Regions from separate parts of the Homo sapiens genome. Here regions 2, 3, 4 and 5 are each linked to region 1. Evidence: promoter capture Hi-C in 16 types of primary human blood cells and fetal thymus (Javierre and others, 2016). All regions are on one chromosome and are shown on one strand. Each heading gives the region's core, a stretch centred on a gene start or on the middle of the fragment in contact. The rest is flanking DNA. Distances are from core to core; before and after follow the strand shown.

What was found. Contacts are between HindIII fragments. The CHiCAGO score rates a contact against its expected background, and 5 or more counts as called.
Region 2: a fragment that was not itself captured here is called in contact with the fragment with the promoter of GIMAP1 in region 1 in 2 of 17 cell types (naive CD8 T cells and naive CD4 T cells); the score reaches 6.4 in naive CD8 T cells.
Region 3: a contact is called between a fragment that was not itself captured here and the fragment with the promoter of GIMAP1 in region 1, in 9 of 17 cell types (non-activated CD4 T cells, activated CD4 T cells, naive CD8 T cells and 6 more). The highest score is 10.8, in non-activated CD4 T cells.
Region 4: a contact is called between a fragment that was not itself captured here and the fragment with the promoter of GIMAP1 in region 1, in 9 of 17 cell types (total CD8 T cells, non-activated CD4 T cells, total CD4 T cells and 6 more). The highest score is 11.6, in total CD8 T cells.
Region 5: a contact is called between a fragment that was not itself captured here and the fragment with the promoter of GIMAP1 in region 1, in 14 of 17 cell types (naive CD8 T cells, total CD8 T cells, neutrophils and 11 more). The highest score is 15.2, in naive CD8 T cells.

What each region holds. Positions count from the first base shown.
Region 1 is chr7:150,715,175-150,718,310 of GRCh38, reverse strand. GIMAP1 (GTPase, IMAP family member 1) reads right to left here and starts at 1,698. Exons shown (of 3, transcript NM_130759.4): 1 at 1,621-1,698. GIMAP1-GIMAP5 (GIMAP1-GIMAP5 readthrough) reads right to left here and starts at 1,698. Exons shown (of 5, transcript NM_001303630.2): 1 at 1,621-1,698. The HindIII fragment of the contact is 9,233 bases long and covers 1,075-3,136 here.
Region 2 is chr7:150,343,702-150,346,837 of GRCh38, reverse strand. All of the region lies in intron 2 of LOC107986858 (a long non-coding RNA gene), which reads right to left. Among named protein-coding and RNA genes, the nearest start is that of RARRES2, 3.6 kb to the right of the region's middle. The HindIII fragment of the contact is 2,219 bases long and covers 559-2,777 here.
Region 3 is chr7:150,363,329-150,366,464 of GRCh38, reverse strand. REPIN1-AS1 (REPIN1 antisense RNA 1) reads left to right here. Exons shown (of 4, transcript NR_183429.1): 4 at 2,288-3,136. Among named protein-coding and RNA genes, the nearest start is that of REPIN1, 3.9 kb to the left of the region's middle. RefSeq lists a silencer at 2,285-2,334. The HindIII fragment of the contact is 1,944 bases long and covers 518-2,461 here.
Region 4 is chr7:150,406,634-150,409,769 of GRCh38, reverse strand. It overlaps LOC728743 (zinc finger domain-containing protein LOC728743), which reads right to left. Exons shown (of 3, transcript NM_001395976.1): 2 at 1,282-2,186. The coding sequence starts at 2,158. The coding sequence ends at 1,547. Among named protein-coding and RNA genes, the nearest start is that of ZNF775-AS1, 24 kb to the right of the region's middle. RefSeq lists enhancers at 2,772-2,821, 3,115-3,136. The HindIII fragment of the contact is 2,546 bases long and covers 254-2,799 here.
Region 5 is chr7:150,427,866-150,431,001 of GRCh38, reverse strand. No RefSeq gene overlaps it. Among named protein-coding and RNA genes, the nearest start is that of LINC00996, 4.2 kb to the left of the region's middle. RefSeq lists an enhancer at 2,007-2,176. The HindIII fragment of the contact is 4,508 bases long and covers 1-3,136 here.

The DNA.
Region 1 (3,136 bases), core at 449-2,948:
CTTCAACTCCTGAAGTTGCTTCCCCTCCAAATGTGATTATGCTGAAATCTAACATTGTGTAATACAGCTAAACCCTCTGTGATCCAGTTTGCCTAATCACACAAGCTCCTGAACACAAATTCACTTCTCCCTGCATCTATGTCTCCAGCCTCATTCCCAGACAATACCCCACTCGGTCAGCTACTTCACAATCAGCAGATTTCAGGGCCTTTCCAACCCACTCGGCTTCCCCTCCTAGGACTATTGATCCTCCCCGACCATCTGTCTGTGCCTCACCATCCATGTCAAACTTGTTGTGTCTTGCACCCTGGTCACTTGGATACCTGTGTTCTCTCCCATTGGCACCACACATGAAGGAGGGGCAGAGAGAGAGGCTGGCTGAGTAACTTGTCTTTGATTGAAGGACTTGGAGAACAGATTTGCCTCATATTAAATCTAGAGCTGTTTCTGTTTCTGCAGGAACTCTACTGGCCCTCCCCAAAGCCTTCAATAAAATTCACTCCATGGGCCTTATGTGATTAATTATTTTGCATGTAGGAATGAACAGATGATCATAAATGACATCAAAGCAGAAATGAAGAAACAGTTGCAAGATTCAGAGAAAAGAATTTAGATGAAGCAAAATGTCCTTGTCAACCAAGAAAATGAGAATTTCTTTTTCCAGTGCTGCAGAATTCTGGATAGGCCTTTGGAATTTTCCATAGTTTAGAAGAGGGGTTGAAATGATTTTAAATAGTTTTTTTTTTTAAAGGAAAGTAAGACCCAGCTGAACTCTGAGGTGACAAATGGCCCTTAATCATTGAGGAATGTACACTTATAGAATCCTGTATTCCTAACACTTTAAGAGACCGCAAAGTTTATTGAGTTCTTCACCGCTCAAATGTGCTGCTTCTCAGAATTACTTGAATGTTCTTTAAAAATGTACATCTCTTGGATCCATCCTGAGATTCTGATTCATGAATTAAATGTTTCTGATGTCCACAGCTCAGAACTTGGACATCAGTCATTTTTGCAACCCCCTTTATTGTACAGATGGGAATTTGAGGTGTCCCCGTGGCTGGAGCAGGAGAAGCTTGAATTAAGGGAGCAGATGTTTAAGGGGCCATGCAGGGAAAGGGGTTGAAGACCAAGATATTAATCTCAGATGTCTCCTCAGGGGCCCCTTCTGTGGACAGTGAGGAGGAGAGTTCAAATGTACCCAGTCTTGTCACGTCGTAACTCACTCCGAGGTTAGATGGCTTATGGGGCCATAGAAATATCTTTTGCCTTTGCTCAATAGGGAGCTTGAGGAATGTTTAATGCCTTTCAAACTGTATTTTATTCCTGGAGGTGGTTCCAGCACACTCTTTTCTTACTTTGTTAAGGGAATGTGGGAGGAGACAGATTTCACTCCCCACCAAGAACGTGTGTGCTCCAGAGCTGGAGAAGATGATCCTAAAATTTCCTCTGAACTTTGCCTACTTAAAAACCTGGAAGTATGTCCTTGATTGTTCCAGATCTTGCTCGCCTGCATGATGCCTTGTAGAATGCAAGTGTTCAGGCAGTAAACACTCTAGGAATCATGTTCTTTCTGGTTCTCAGAGCACCCCCAGCCCCCGCCACTCCCAGGCTCAGGCTCACCTTTCCTGGTGACAGGCTCTGAAGTTGGCCACAAGAAGCCCCAACCTGCTGCTTTCCCTTCGGCTGTGAGTGCAGAAGGCTGTTTCCTCTCGGCACACGGAGGAAATCACTCAGACTTCAGAAATCAGGAAGCTCAGGGTGGGCCCCATGGTTATGGTTTAAAGAGACAGAAACATTTCCCATTGAGCTGTGGGTTGGCAATACTTCTCCTACCGACTCTACTTTCTGCTGTGACTGAGGTTATGTGTCTCCAGCAGGGCCTCATGATGTCAAATATCTTGCCATGCTCTAAGAAGGGAGGGATGTTGTAGTCTCTGAGGCCTGACTGTACTTCTAAAATTGATTACTGAGCTAATCTTCAGTTGCCTTTGCCCTATAGGGACATTTCCCCATATAAAATAGGCCCAGAGAGTCTCCTGCCCCGGAACAAATAACGTAATAGCTGTTCTCATCATCTGTCCATTAATTAGACATTCATGTGGCCAGTGCCAGCCCCAGATCCAGTCTGCCAGAAAAACCTGAAGGCAAAGTCTTATCATTCTCTGAGAGAGGAGGGCTTTCCCAGCTATTGAAGGACTTGAGGGTGAACTGGTATGTTGAGGATGAACACCTTCGCACTATCTTCAATTTAGCCTTATTAGGAGGCTTTAGTCTAGTCGTCTATGTTGGTATCACCAGTTCTAGTTATTCTATCTTCTCTCAAGAGCATCATGAGGTCAGCAAAAAAGCGAATCACTGGGTGGTAAGAAGGCTACAGAGGAGCAGGCTGCATATCTGGTTAGGTCATTAACCAGCTATAGGACCTCACCTAACTCATTTAAACTTTCTGGAGTTGGCTTTCTGGAGTATATGGGGAAGACAATAACCCGAGTCTTACCCTACTGGATAGGATCTGCTTTTTAACCTCTTTCATGCCAGACCACTTTTTTTCTGGTAGGGAAGAGACCCAGCTTTTACTGTTTCCCATCTTTTTGGGGGCACAGAGTCTCCTGGATATCTGACATGTCCACTGTTTCCATTCATCATTGCTGAAACAGGGAGCCTGTCATTCTCCCAGTAGACCGGCAGGGCTGGGGCTATTGTGAGGCAGGTGGGGCATCTAGAGCACACAGCTTAAGGAGGCACTCACTCTCAGGTCACCCAAGTGCAGATCTTGTAGGTGGGTGACCCTGGGAGTGAGTGTTTTCTTAAGAGTGAGGTGCCTAGGGCTTCTCACTAGCCTCATCCTAGCCCAAGCCACATAGATCAGCTTTGAATAAGTCTTTGATACTTGACGTGTACCTTTCATAAAGACGCTTTCAGAGCCTCTTCAACAGCTCCGGGCCATTTATTGTTTCCATGCATGTGTATGATGTCTTACTTCAGCCACTCATAACTCTCTGTCAGAGGGTTTATCTGACTACAAAAGTATATGTAGGTAATGCATGCAGCAGCCTGAAGTTGTCAGAGCTGATATCCTAGGAGCAGATTTCAATCAATGTCAGTTAGGACTTATGGATAAACACCACAACTTATC
Region 2 (3,136 bases), core at 419-2,918, 370 kb after region 1:
CTGCCACTGAGCTCCTACCGGCTCATCTTCATCCACCCACCCCTCTTACTCCATGTTGGATCCCCTCCCAGTGAGGTCCTAACCTCTTCCCTCCTCACCCTCCTACCGCCAGGGCAAGCTACTTCCTTCTCCAATCCCCAGTCTCATCTCTGCTCTGATCTCGATCTGCATGCAGATAACACAGTTTCCCATCTGTAGCCAGAGCTCCACCAGCCCTGTTCAGTCAACATCTCCACTGGCATGTTCCACAGACACCTCACACTTCTCTCCTCACTGCCCTCCTGAGTCTCTCTCTCCCTGAGGATCAAAACCATGTCTACAGCTGTTCAAGCCAGAAACCTGGGATTCACCCCTCTCTGTTGACCTCGACCCCAACATCTTATCAATCACCAAACCCTGGTGCTTTAGTCCTGAGGTATTTCTGGACTTTGTTTTCCCATCTTCACTGCCTCCAGTTTTGTCCCTGCCACATTCGTCTCTCACCCGGACAATCACAATTATCTCCTGCTGAGATTTATTCCCTTTTATCCACTCTCCACACAGCAGCCAGAGTAAGCTTTCAGAAATGCTATTGGGACCAGGCGCGGTGGCTCACACCTGTAATCTCAGCAGTTTGGAAAGGTAAGGTAGGAGGATCACTTGAGCTCAGAAGTTCAAGACCAGCCTGGGCAACAAAACAAAACCTCCTCTCTCCTGAAAAAAAAAATAATAATAATAAAAACTAGCTGGGTGAGGTGGTCCTGTAGTTCTAGCTACTGGGAGGCTGAGGCAGGAAGATCAATAGAGCCTAGAACATGGAGGCTGCAGTGAGCTCTGATTATGCCATTGCACTCCAGCCTGGGCAACAGAATAAGACTTTGTCTCAAAAAAAGAGAAAAGAAAAGAAGACAAAAGAAAAGCTGTTGCTTTGCTTTCTGATTTTAAAAGTATTAAGGCCAAGCACAGTGGCTCAAGCCTGTAATTTCAGCACTTTGAGAGTCCAAGGTGGGTGGATTGCTGAACCTAGAAGTTTGAGATCAGCCTGGGCAATGTGACAAAATCCTGTCTCTAGAAAAAAATACAAAAATTAGCCTAGGATGATGGCATGCACCTGTGGTCCAAGCTACTTGGGAGGCTGAGGTGGGAGGATCGCTTGAGCACAGGAGGTTGAGGCTGCAGTGAGCCATGATTGAGCCACTGCTCTCCAGCTTGAACGACAGAGCAAGACCCTGTCTCAAAAAATAGTTTTTAAAGTTTTTTTATATTTTAATAGACAAATTATCCACAAGTTATAAAAATTTAAAAGTACAAAGGGAGTACAGTTTTCCTGCCTCTGTTTTCCCCAGCTGGACAGATCCTCTCCTCACAGGCAAACACTGTTATAAGTTTCTTGTTTTTCCCTTCTAGAAATATTCCATGCATTTACAAACACAAAAATTTGTTCATTTTTAGTTTTAGTTTTTACTCACATAATTGGTAACACATGCTCTGCCTGCAATATCCAATATGGTAGCCACCAGCCACAGGTTTAGGAACACTTGCCATGTGGCTGGTGTGACTGAGGTATTTATTGGAATGCTAAAACAAGAGATTGATGCTTCCAATGTTGCTTCATTTCACTTTAGGGTACATATTGAAGATATTTGTGCTCAGTTTTCTGAAATTTATTCTATGCAAGTCTCATGGCTACAGCCATTAAAACTAATTCCGTATTTAAGTGGAAATGCTATGAATCACTGCTGGTTTTATGGAACTGTTGAAAGCAATGAAAGATAATGAATTTAATGATCTTTTCTTTACCAAAGCTCATTGTCAGGGTTGTAGAAGAGTTCTCCTAAGATTTACTGTACTTTTAACTAACTCCAAGATTTTCTTGAGACAGAAGCCATGATTACCAAATATACAACAATAAGTATTATTATTATTTGTTTTGGGGACAAGGTTTTGCTCTGTGGCCAAGTCTGAGAGTGGTGGCTTGAGCCTATAATCCCAACACTTTGGGAGGCTGAGGTGGGAGGGTCATGTAGTGGCATGATCATAGCTCACTGCAACCTTGACTTCCCAGGCTCAAGTGATCGTCCCCCGCCAGCCTCCTGAGTAGCCAGGACTACAGACTTTTGCCACCACACTCAGCTAATTAAACTTTTTTTTTTTTGTAAAGATAGCCTCTCTCTATATTGCCCAGGCTGGTCTTGAACTCCTGGGTTCAGTGATCCACCCACCTTGGACTCCCAAAGTGCTAGGATTACAGGCATGAGTCACTACTCTCAACCCAAATATTCAATAATTAAAAATAAAAAAGTCAGTGTTTTCTCACCAATACCACACTACATATAAATGGGCTAAATTTGAATATCCAAGGAGATGAAACCTCATTTGTGACCTAGCCAGATAAATATAAGCATTTCAAATTAAATATTTTCATAATACTGACAAATAATTACAATCTACATACTTTTGTCACAAGAATCAACATACAGAGGTTTTAATTGTAATATACAGCATTGTGTAAATTGGCAAAATTTCAAGAAAAATGTGAAGAATTCTTAGTTGATATTGATAAATTTAGAATGGCTTTTGAATTTATGCAATATCATTTTTGAATTTATGCTAATGGTACCGAATTGACACAAGTTGGAAAATGTACTTAACTTCAATAGGTGTAGTTTTGCAACTGATATGCTCTTACTTCAAAGTCAAATCACTTCTTCTAAAAAAAACTATTTTTGTCAATGTGGTTGCAAATATTAAAGGACAATGTTTTTTGGTACTCAGTTCAGTTATTGGAAAACTAAGCTTGGAACAACTGGATACGTGAGTCTACTTTTTTAGCTGTCATGACCAGGAAGATCATTAACCATCATTAAATAGTGAAGTCCTGTTGTTGCTCCCCTGGACTGGGACATGTTACCTGGAGCTGAGCTCATGAATATGCCCTAAGTAGTCCTTTCACACATCCACACCTATGAGTGCTCTGCAGTAGGACTGTCCACCTCTTTGGGGTGCACCTCACATACCTACACCCAAAGTGAATTTTGTGTGGCCATTTAAGTATAGCCAGACTGGCTCCTTCCTCACCAACTCCCACCACCCTGCTCCCAACCTACCTCCCCACCTCAACTGCCTCACCTCCCCTGCAACAGACCTGATGCAACTT
Region 3 (3,136 bases), core at 240-2,739, 350 kb after region 1:
AAATAAGTTTTGGTAGCTGGTAGTTTAAGTACTTCCCCTACACAAAGATTCTGGGTTTTTTTATTCTTCATAACTTCTTGGCTAGAATCACTTCATTTATTCTTCCAAACTGACATGGAGCCGGCACCCCTCTTACAGGCCTGCAGGAAGTGGGGAGGGGGCAAGCATGGAAATAAAGGAAAATCTTGAATTCCTTCAAGGGAAATTCCAGGCACCCAGCTAGCAACCTAATAAACAAGAAGGTAACTGTAGCTTAAAACAAGGAAGTTACAGTCACAAAATGTTTGGTTCCCTATAGAAACTAAAGATAACATCTTAATATATGTCCCTGAGTTGCTCTTCAGAAACCTGGGCCCCCCTCCCAAGTGGATGCCCTGGCCTGCAGACCTCAGACAAGAGGGAACTGAGGACTAAGCTCTGCTGTTCTTTGTTCTAAATTTCTTCCTGAGGATCCTGATGGAAGTTGGACCAGACCTGAACATTCCTTTCTGCTAACCCCAAGGTTTTAGGCAAAGCTTTGCTTCCTTAACTTATCACAAATCAGAGTCTTTGAATTCATGTATGACCTTTAAGGCTCCTCCTTCAAAATACCCTGCCCTTTGAGGCTAAACCAGTGCATAACCTCCATGTATCAATTCACGATTTTGCCCATAACTTCTCCTTTCCTGAAATTTACCCCTGCTTTTAAAAACACTTGCTTGTGGCCGGGCCCAGTGGCTCATGCTTGTAATCCCAGCACTTTGGGAGGCCGAGGTGGGCGGATCACAAAGTCAGGAGTTCAAGACCAGCCTGGCCAACACAGTGAAACCTCGTCTCTACTAAAAATACAAAAATTAGCTGGACGTGGTGGCAGGAGCCTGTAATCCCAGCTACTCGGGAGGCTGAGGCAGGAGAATCACTTGAACCCAGGAGGCGGAGGTTGCAGTGAGCCAAGATCATGCCACTGTACTCAAGTCTGGGCGGCAGAGCTAGACTCCGACTGGGGGAAAAAAAAAACCTTGCTTGTAAACCATCGAAGAGGTTGTATCTTAAGTATGACCCACTTCTCCTCGCTTGGTGCCCTGCAAATAAATGTGCTCCTTTCTCCGGATGCACAACCTCAGTGTTGGTGTTTCCTCTTACTGCGCCGGGCAAGTAGACCCCAGTTCAGTTTTGTAACAAAATGAACTTTAGAATTTCTTGTCAATGTTTTAAAAACGTGATTGTCTTTAAGATTCATTCTCTCCACTCCATTCATTCAGGTCTTATTTTACCTGTCCCAGTCAAGTTGACTAATCTGTACATTAACTACTTAACTTTTATACTTTTTTTTTTTTTTTGAGACAGTGTCTAGCTCTGTCACCCAGGTTGGAGTGCAATGGTGCAATATCAGCTCAGTGCAACCTCCGCCTCCCAGGTTCAAGTGATTCTCCTGCCTCAGCCTCCCTAGTAGCTGGGATTACAGGCACGCACCACTACACCTGGCTAATTTTTGTATTTTTAGTAGAGATGGGGTTTTGCCATGTTAGCCAGGCTAGTCTTGAACTCCTGAACTCCTGACCTCAGGTGATCGGCCCACCTTGGCCTCCCAAAGTGCTGGGATTACAGGTGTGAGCTACCGCACCCAGCCCAACTTTTATACTTTATAAAATAAAATTCACAAATATGAAAAAAGTCTTTGTCATATCATATAGTTTGGGGGTTCTGAAAATATGGTTATAGCATATTGTGGAATATAGGCCAAGTTTAGTAGTTACGGAAGAATGAATTTTTCTACCAACAGTACAATAAGAAGATGCTCCAGTTTTTACCTAAATACTTAGTAATTTATTAGTTAACATTTTGGGAGGCTTTACTTTGTGTCAGGCATGGTGATAAACTCCTCACATACATATCTCATTTAATCCACTCAACAACCCTATGCAATACTCTTCTGGTCCTTATTTTACAAATGTAACAACCGAGACTCTGAAATGTTCAGGAACTTACTCAAGGCCACTCAGCGGGATAGTGGCTGATTTGAACCCAAGCAGTGCCCCTGTGTCCTCAATGTTAACCACTAAAGTTGCATGTGTGCTGGCCTGGGCACAGGGTAAGCGTGGGATCCCCCAGGGTTAACGAGTGAGTTTGGACATCTAATGCTTCTCCATTCCTAAAATTCCACTTGATCCCTACGTTCCTGCAAGAGCCTGCGAAGCAGAATTCCTTCATAGACTCACAAAGTATCTTCTCCTTGTCTGTAATCCGTCTTTCATAGCAGAAAGGTTCTTCATTAAACAAGGCCCTAACCTTCTTTCTCTCTCCCCAGCCTCCATTAGAGGAAATGTCTCTTCTCCCAGTCAGGAGTTAACCACCTGCTGTAACTTCCTCTTTAGCATCGCCAGAGGAAACTAAGTATGACTGTGCCTTCACTCTGCAGAAAGAAAATGAGTGGCAAAGGAGTTGCGAAGGGATTCCTGAGCCTTTATGCCAGCTGGAAGCTTAAGGCCTTGGTATTTGAGACTTCACCCTTCAAAATGTCTTGGAGGATGGCCCAGCAACCAGCCAAATGGCCCAATGGCCTAGCCCAGTGGAGACGGTCTCAGCTTTTGACAAGCTAGCCGGAGAAAGGGCTGGACAGGAAGGGGCCCACTGGACAGCGAATATTGATAGGGCCCCTGGGAGGATCAATTTTCCCCTCCAACAGTGCCTGGCTCCCATTATCAGATTAGATGCAAAGTGGGCTGGCATGCCAGGGGGTGACAGGAACAGTGTCTCCAGAAATCCTCTGTGAAGACACCCAAGTATTGTTCAGAAGTGGCCCTGTATCTGGAAGAGGGAAAACTGCACCCACTTCTTGCAGACATACAGTTCCAGCTCCCCCCACAGGACTTGCTCATACATCCAACAAATATTTAATCAGTGCCCACCATCTGCCACTGTGCCAGGTGCCCGGCCTCATCATGAGTCAGGCAGAGGTGGTCTGTGCAGTTTTCCCACAATGTGAGAGGGTGCTGAGAAGACTTTTAACGCTTATTTAACTACGGAAATAACTCTTGGTTTGGTACCTACTACAAAATAAAAACAAGCGCTTGTTGATAATTTCTGGATGGATGACTGTGGAAAGCTGGAGGAGACTGAGGATCAATTTGCTCTAATGAACCTTCCCTTGACTATC
Region 4 (3,136 bases), core at 277-2,776, 310 kb after region 1:
AATGTGCAGGTCCCCTCGAAGCCCCAGCTCCCTTCCTCCCAAACCACTCCCAGGGATGCCATGTCCCCTTCAAACACCCGTACCACCCCTAACACCCCTGCCCCAGCTCCTATCACATGGCCCCAAATCCTCCCTGCTCCATCGTCCACTTTTTAAGCAGTGAAGCTAAAAGGTTCTGGGATTCAGAATCCAAAACAAAGCCCTGGCTTCCACCTGTTGTACCCCTAAGTACCAACTGTGGTGTAGGCAAGCTTGGCAAACCTGTTTCCTCATCTGCCAAAAGGCTGAAGAGGCCCGTGCCTCAGAGCGCCAGCTTGGAACCAGAGGTCCTGGAGCAGAGTCCTGGCTGCCCCCTTTCTCACTGCCAGACCTTGGCCAGGCCTCTTAGCTGGGGGCCTTATGTTCTCTTGCCCAGATGACCCAAGCCCCTCGAGGCTCCAGCTCTTCCCACATCAGTCTGTCCTCACAGTGCCTCTGATTCTCCTCCTAAAGCATAAGTCTGAGATCATAGCACTCATCTCATTAAAAATCTCAGTGTCCCCACCCCCTGACCACGAAGTCCTTTGTAGGGCAAACCTCCCCTTGGGACACCTGGAGACAGTCACTGAACTATCAGGACCCCCCCTCCCTTGAAAACACCCTTCTACACACTTGCTCTTCCTAGAACAATTTTATTTGTCCCCATGACCTGGTTCAAAGCCATCAAACTCCCCTGGGTGACGAAGAGAAACCAGTCACCCTCCTCGGTCTCACCCCAGAGCACTTTGTAGGTTGGCCCCGCGTCACACACCGAGTGTGAGCACCCCGTGTCAGGGCCTGCGGTCCTCATGTGTGTCTCTGGGAGAGCCCAGCCCGGCACAGTCAGTGGCACATGGTGTGGCAGAATCAACTAAGGCTCTGTGCACCAGTGACCTCACCCTCTCTCATCCAGTAGCTGCAATATATCCCAGCGAGGAAGAGTCCCTCATCTATATCCCCAACTTACAGATGAGTAAACTGAAACATGAAGTGAAATGACATCTCAAGGACAGCAGAGAGTGTGTACAGGAGCCAGGAGGCCTAGGGGCTGAGGTTGGGCGTGGGGTTTGTGGAAAGTGGCCTCTCCAAGTCTCTTTCAACTCTGACATTCTGGGGATGAAGATCCGGTAAGCAGCTCATCACAGAGAAACCTACAGCCCGGTACCCAGACCGCCCCACCTGCCATCAAGAATCAACACCACGCACTCCACCCCCACCACTCCCAGCCCTGAGAGGGGCTCTGGCCAGCCCCGCAGGTCTCACCTGCTCTAGGCCGGATGGGCCAGAGAAGGAGAACCATGGCAGGAGCCGGAAGCAGCTGTGCGCAGCCAGCCAGAGGGTCCCGAGGGAGGAACGCGAGCGGGCGGCCGGAGCCTGGCGGCGGCCCACACCTTCAAGAGCCCAAGCCAGCGCTGCCCCTCTCCCGGGATCCCATCTAGAGAGGGAGCTGCGGCCCAGGGCCATCTCCAGGGGTCGGGGACGCACGTGCGGGGCGGGAAGCAGCCGTCGGCAGCAGGCCCCGGGCGCATCATAGCACGCGTCCTAAGTGGGCCGCCTGGCCCTCGGGCCCGTGGCCGTGGCTGCGCTGATGGGTCTTGAGCGAGCCCTCGCGCGCGAAGCTCTTGCCGCAGCGGGGGCAGAAGTAGGGCCGCCGCTCCCCGAAGACGCCGGGGCGGCGCGGGTGCGGCGCGGGCATGCGCGCGTGGGTGCGCTGGTGGTTGAGCAGGAAGCGCGGCTCGCGGAAGCAGCGGCCGCACTGCGCGCACTGGTGCGGCTTCTCGCCGCTGTGGATGCGCTGGTGCGTGAGCAGGTTCTGCTTGAGGCTGAAGCAGCGGCCGCACTCGGGGCAGGGGAAGGGCCGCTCCCCGGTGTGCGTGCGCTGGTGCACCTCGAGGTTGTGCTTGACGCTGAAGGCCTTGCCGCACTCGGGACACACGAAGGCAGCCGCGCGGCCCGCTCCGGCGTGCGCCTTCTGGTGCCGCACCAGGCTGGGCTGCTGCGAGAAGGTCTGGCCGCACAGCGGGCAGCGGTAGGGCTGCTCCTCTGCAGGGTGGTGGATGACCAGGCCTCGCTCGTCCCCCAGACCCTCCTCCCCGTCCCCCGCAGGGGACCCGCCCCCGGAGGACGCCAGCTCGGTCATGGGCACTTCCAGCTGCAATCACCAGTCCCTAGGGAGACAGAAGCGGGGGCGGGGGTGGGGGGTGGAGAGAGAGGGGTCGGGGAACACGAGGGTTAGCCAACCCCCAGCCTGGCAGGGACACTCACCTCCCACAACCTCCACCTTTCGCCCCGTTTTGTTCAAGCTCAAGTTCCCCTGCTGGGAATTGGTGTTCCTCTTCCTCCACTGCCTTTTAAGCACGGCCTACACTCCTTCCAGTCCCTTCCCAAGGGCACCTTCTCCTAGAAGCCTTCCCTGACCTTTCCACCCCGGGCTTAAACACCGTGTGACACAACCATGTGGCTCTCACTGATCATACTGCACGAGGGTCAGTCATGCCACCTCTGTCCCCCGACTCCCAGCACCCTAAGGACAGAGCTGCCTTCTTTCAACCCCAGCACCTAGCACCATGCCAGCCAGCCACACAAGACACTAGACAGATGGTGATGAGTTTCAGTTAGGATTTTCAGTTTCAGTTTCAGCTAGGATTTTCAGTTACCTTCGTCTAGATATGTCTTATCCCTCCAACCAGATCTCAAGGACAGGGGGAGGTAGGGAAGTGCACCCCAAACTTGGAGAAAAGGGTGGCATTATCAGTGATTTAAAGATATTTTTGTGAAGCTTAAAACAGGAAAAAAAACACAACCCTGTAAACTTGAAAGTGACCTCGGTTAAACATTAAAGGCGGCAGCTCTTTGTTTATCAAAATGAGGCATGTGTTCAAAAGGTTTCCAAGTCACTGAACCAGGGTGTGGGCTCCCAGGGGGACTGGTCTCAGCGTGATTCCTCTTGGTATCCTCACAGCAAAGCCTGGCCCAAGGCTGAGCAGCACCCTCAGTGCCCAGCCAACACCCCCAAACCCAGCTCCCTTCATGCTGCTTCTCCAAAGGATCCTCTTCCCAGGACACTGTGTTCCTCTTAAATTGTTTCCCATTGTCCTCACAACAGCCCTGAGAAAGG
Region 5 (3,136 bases), core at 256-2,755, 290 kb after region 1:
ATCCGCACCACAGCCCAGCATATGGCCTGGCTTTTTCTCTTCATCTTCATCCTTGTATGTCTAAAGAGAAATGTTTGTGTGGGAGGAGATGACATTTGAGTTCGTTAATTCAAAACACTGGTGGTAAGATGACTTATTCCAGGAACTTCAGTTCTGGATTTCATCAAATAAACTCAGGGACTCAACAGAAGAAAGTGACCGTCTTGTGAGTCCACTGAGCTCTGTCTCCAGAACAGAACCCCAAGGAGTCGGACACAGGAGCAGCAAAGTGCAGGCTGCCCACTGCATCTGCACCAAGGGGAAGGCACGGTCTCTGCAGGCAGCTGCCTCGTACCCCAGCAGCTGCACGTTGCTGCCAGCGCCTGGGGACCGCTGCCTCAGATGGAGAAGCTGGAACTCAGATCCTAGACTATTCCCCTGGGGGAATGCGATGATGGTTTCCAAACTTCACAGGTGCAGGCACGGTTCAAACCTCTGCTTTGCCCTTCCTAACTGCCTGAACTTGAGCAAGTGACCTCCACCCCCAAGTACTTCAGGTTCCTGATCTATAGAAGGAAGATCGTAACGATAATGGTCTTGTGGAGTAGGATGAGGATTAAATAATCTCTCTCCAGTGGGGACTGTTTATTATCTCACACCCCATGTACCCCAGGGACAGAAAATGGGGTTAGGGGGCAGGGCGTGGTGGTGCACACCTGTGGTCCCAGCTGCTCTGGAGGCTGAAGCAGGAGGATCGCTTGAGCCCAGGAGGTCGAGGCTGCAGTGAGCCATGATTGCACCACTGCACTCCAGCCTGGGTGACCAAGGGAGACCCTGTCTCCAAAAAAATAATGCGGTTAGAGTTAGCATCTCCCTTGCTCCTTGGCTTTCAGGCCATACCTCTTCTCCCTTTTGAGAACTAGTCGGCCTCTTCGAGTGTTAGCTGCTGGTCTCTTCCCTTCGTGCTTTGGGGTATGGGCGTCCAGCTCAGTCCCCCCGCCGTCCCCAGGCTTTGTCCCAGGACATGCCGGGTGTATTTGTTCTCCATTGCTGCATAATAAACCACCACAAAAAGTGGCTTGAACAACACAGACTTACTCTCTTAGCGTTCTGGAAGTCCAGAGTCTGAAATGAACCTACAGGGCTAAAATCAAGGTGTCCACAGGGCAGGTTCCTTCTGGAGGCTCCAAGGGAGAATCTCACTGTTCCATGTCTCCTTCAGCATGAGACAGAGAGAGAAAGAGGGAGAGGTGGGGGGTTGGTGAGGTAGAAGGTGCCACACACTTTTAAATGACCAGATCTCATGTGAACTCAGAGCAAGAGCTCACTCATCACCAGGAGGATGGCCCAAGCCATTCATGAGAGATCTGCCCCCATGGCCCAAACACCTCCCACCAGGCACTTCTAACACTGCAGATTACATTTCATTCAACATGAGATTTGGGCAGGGACAAATATCCAAACTATATCAGCTATTAAAGTCCCCAAACCTTCCCTTTAGCTTCCAGTTGCTTTCCTTTGGCTTCTGGGGCAGCCTGCAGAGGGCAAGTGCCTTCGCTCTGAGAGCAGCTGAGTAAGGACACTGCCTTCTCTGACTATATTGAGTACCAGCCCCCCATTCACCAGGCATCCGACTCTCTGCCTCCAAACAATTGCTTTATGCAGGTCCAGGGGCTGGGCCTGGCTATTCTATGCCATCCTTGGGAGTCCTTCCCATCGTCAAGGATTTTCTGAAAGGTCAAGCCTGGCTGCACTGGAGAAGGGAATGTGGAAGCCACAGCCCCTCGTAGCCGGCAGCCTGGGCAGCAACTGGAGGAGGTGGAGCATTTTCCTCTCCCTGTGGGGCTGAGGAATGTGCAGAAAATGGGTCTGCGGGTTCTTTCCAGGTTGCTCAGGAAGGGGTCTAGGGATGTATCTGAGGGGACAAGGGTTTGGGTAGGGACCCAGGCCAGGACTCCAAAGCCCCAGTGCCTTGGCCCTGAGAGCTTGCCTGCCAGTGATTTCTACCTTGGCTGGAATGCACTTTGCCATTTCCTCTGTAGACACTTCCTTGGGCAGATGCGGCCATCTGGTCTACTCCACAGGAGGTGGGAGTGACAGCAGCAAATAAAGAAGACAGGAAGAAGGCGGCCAAGGGCTGCGTGAGTGAACACAAACAGCAGGAGGGCACTTTGCCCAGTGTGGCTTCTGAATCATGCCTCTGAAAGTCCCTGTGTGTGCACACAGCTGTGGGCAGTGCTTACGTTTCTGTGCATGTGTCTGTGGAGAGTGTGGTTGGGGGTCGGAGGGGGTACCTGTGAATTCCTTAGAGAATCCTAGAGGGTGGGACTCTACGGGACCTGCAAGCAAGTCCAGTGGGTTCCAAATGTTTTCTGCAGGTTCTAGTGGGGGCCCCCGGACACCTAAGGGGTGGGCCCAGCAGACAAGGTTGCTGGGGAGAGGGAGACCCATCCCATGCTGTAGCTGGAACACTCCTGGGGTGATCCATGGGTCTTCCTAGTGATATTTTGAAAAAATAAGATTTTACTTTCATTAAAAAAAAAACAAATCTTTGGAAGTAGTGACTTCCCATCTAACCTCCTCATTCTTCAGTGAAGAAACTGTAGCCCCCAGAAAGGAAGTGACTTCCCCAAGGTCGTGAAGGAACCAGCTGGGGGAGAGTCTCAGGCCTCCTGACTCCAAAGTGGGTGCCATCCACAGTTTATCTTGCATCTCTCGGCCTGCAGGGCTGTGGAGGTACAGGCGGCTGGAGGGTGCACTCTGCCCAGCCTCACCCCGGTGAGGACCAAGTGTCCCGGTTCTGAGGAACACAAGGCAAGGCCTCCCTCTTCTAAAGTCTCTTCTTGTTTCCTGACCTGCCGCACTAGTCAGGCCTCTGGTGAAAGGCGTTTGAGGCCCTCAGCACCCTCACGTGACGTGGGAGCCCCAATACGCATGGAGCTGTTGGCACCACTTTGCCACTGCTTGGCCTGGAGAAGTTCTCATTAGCCCTACAGGGACATGGGACAGCGGGATACGTAAGTTGTGGTGGATGGAGGATGGAAAATTGGCCCCATAAGCATCAAGAGCGTGCAGCTGCAGCGTCAGGGCACCTGATAGGCAGCCAGGTGGTGAGAGCTGGGAGCCCTGCTGGGCACTGACGTAGCCCATGCTGCAG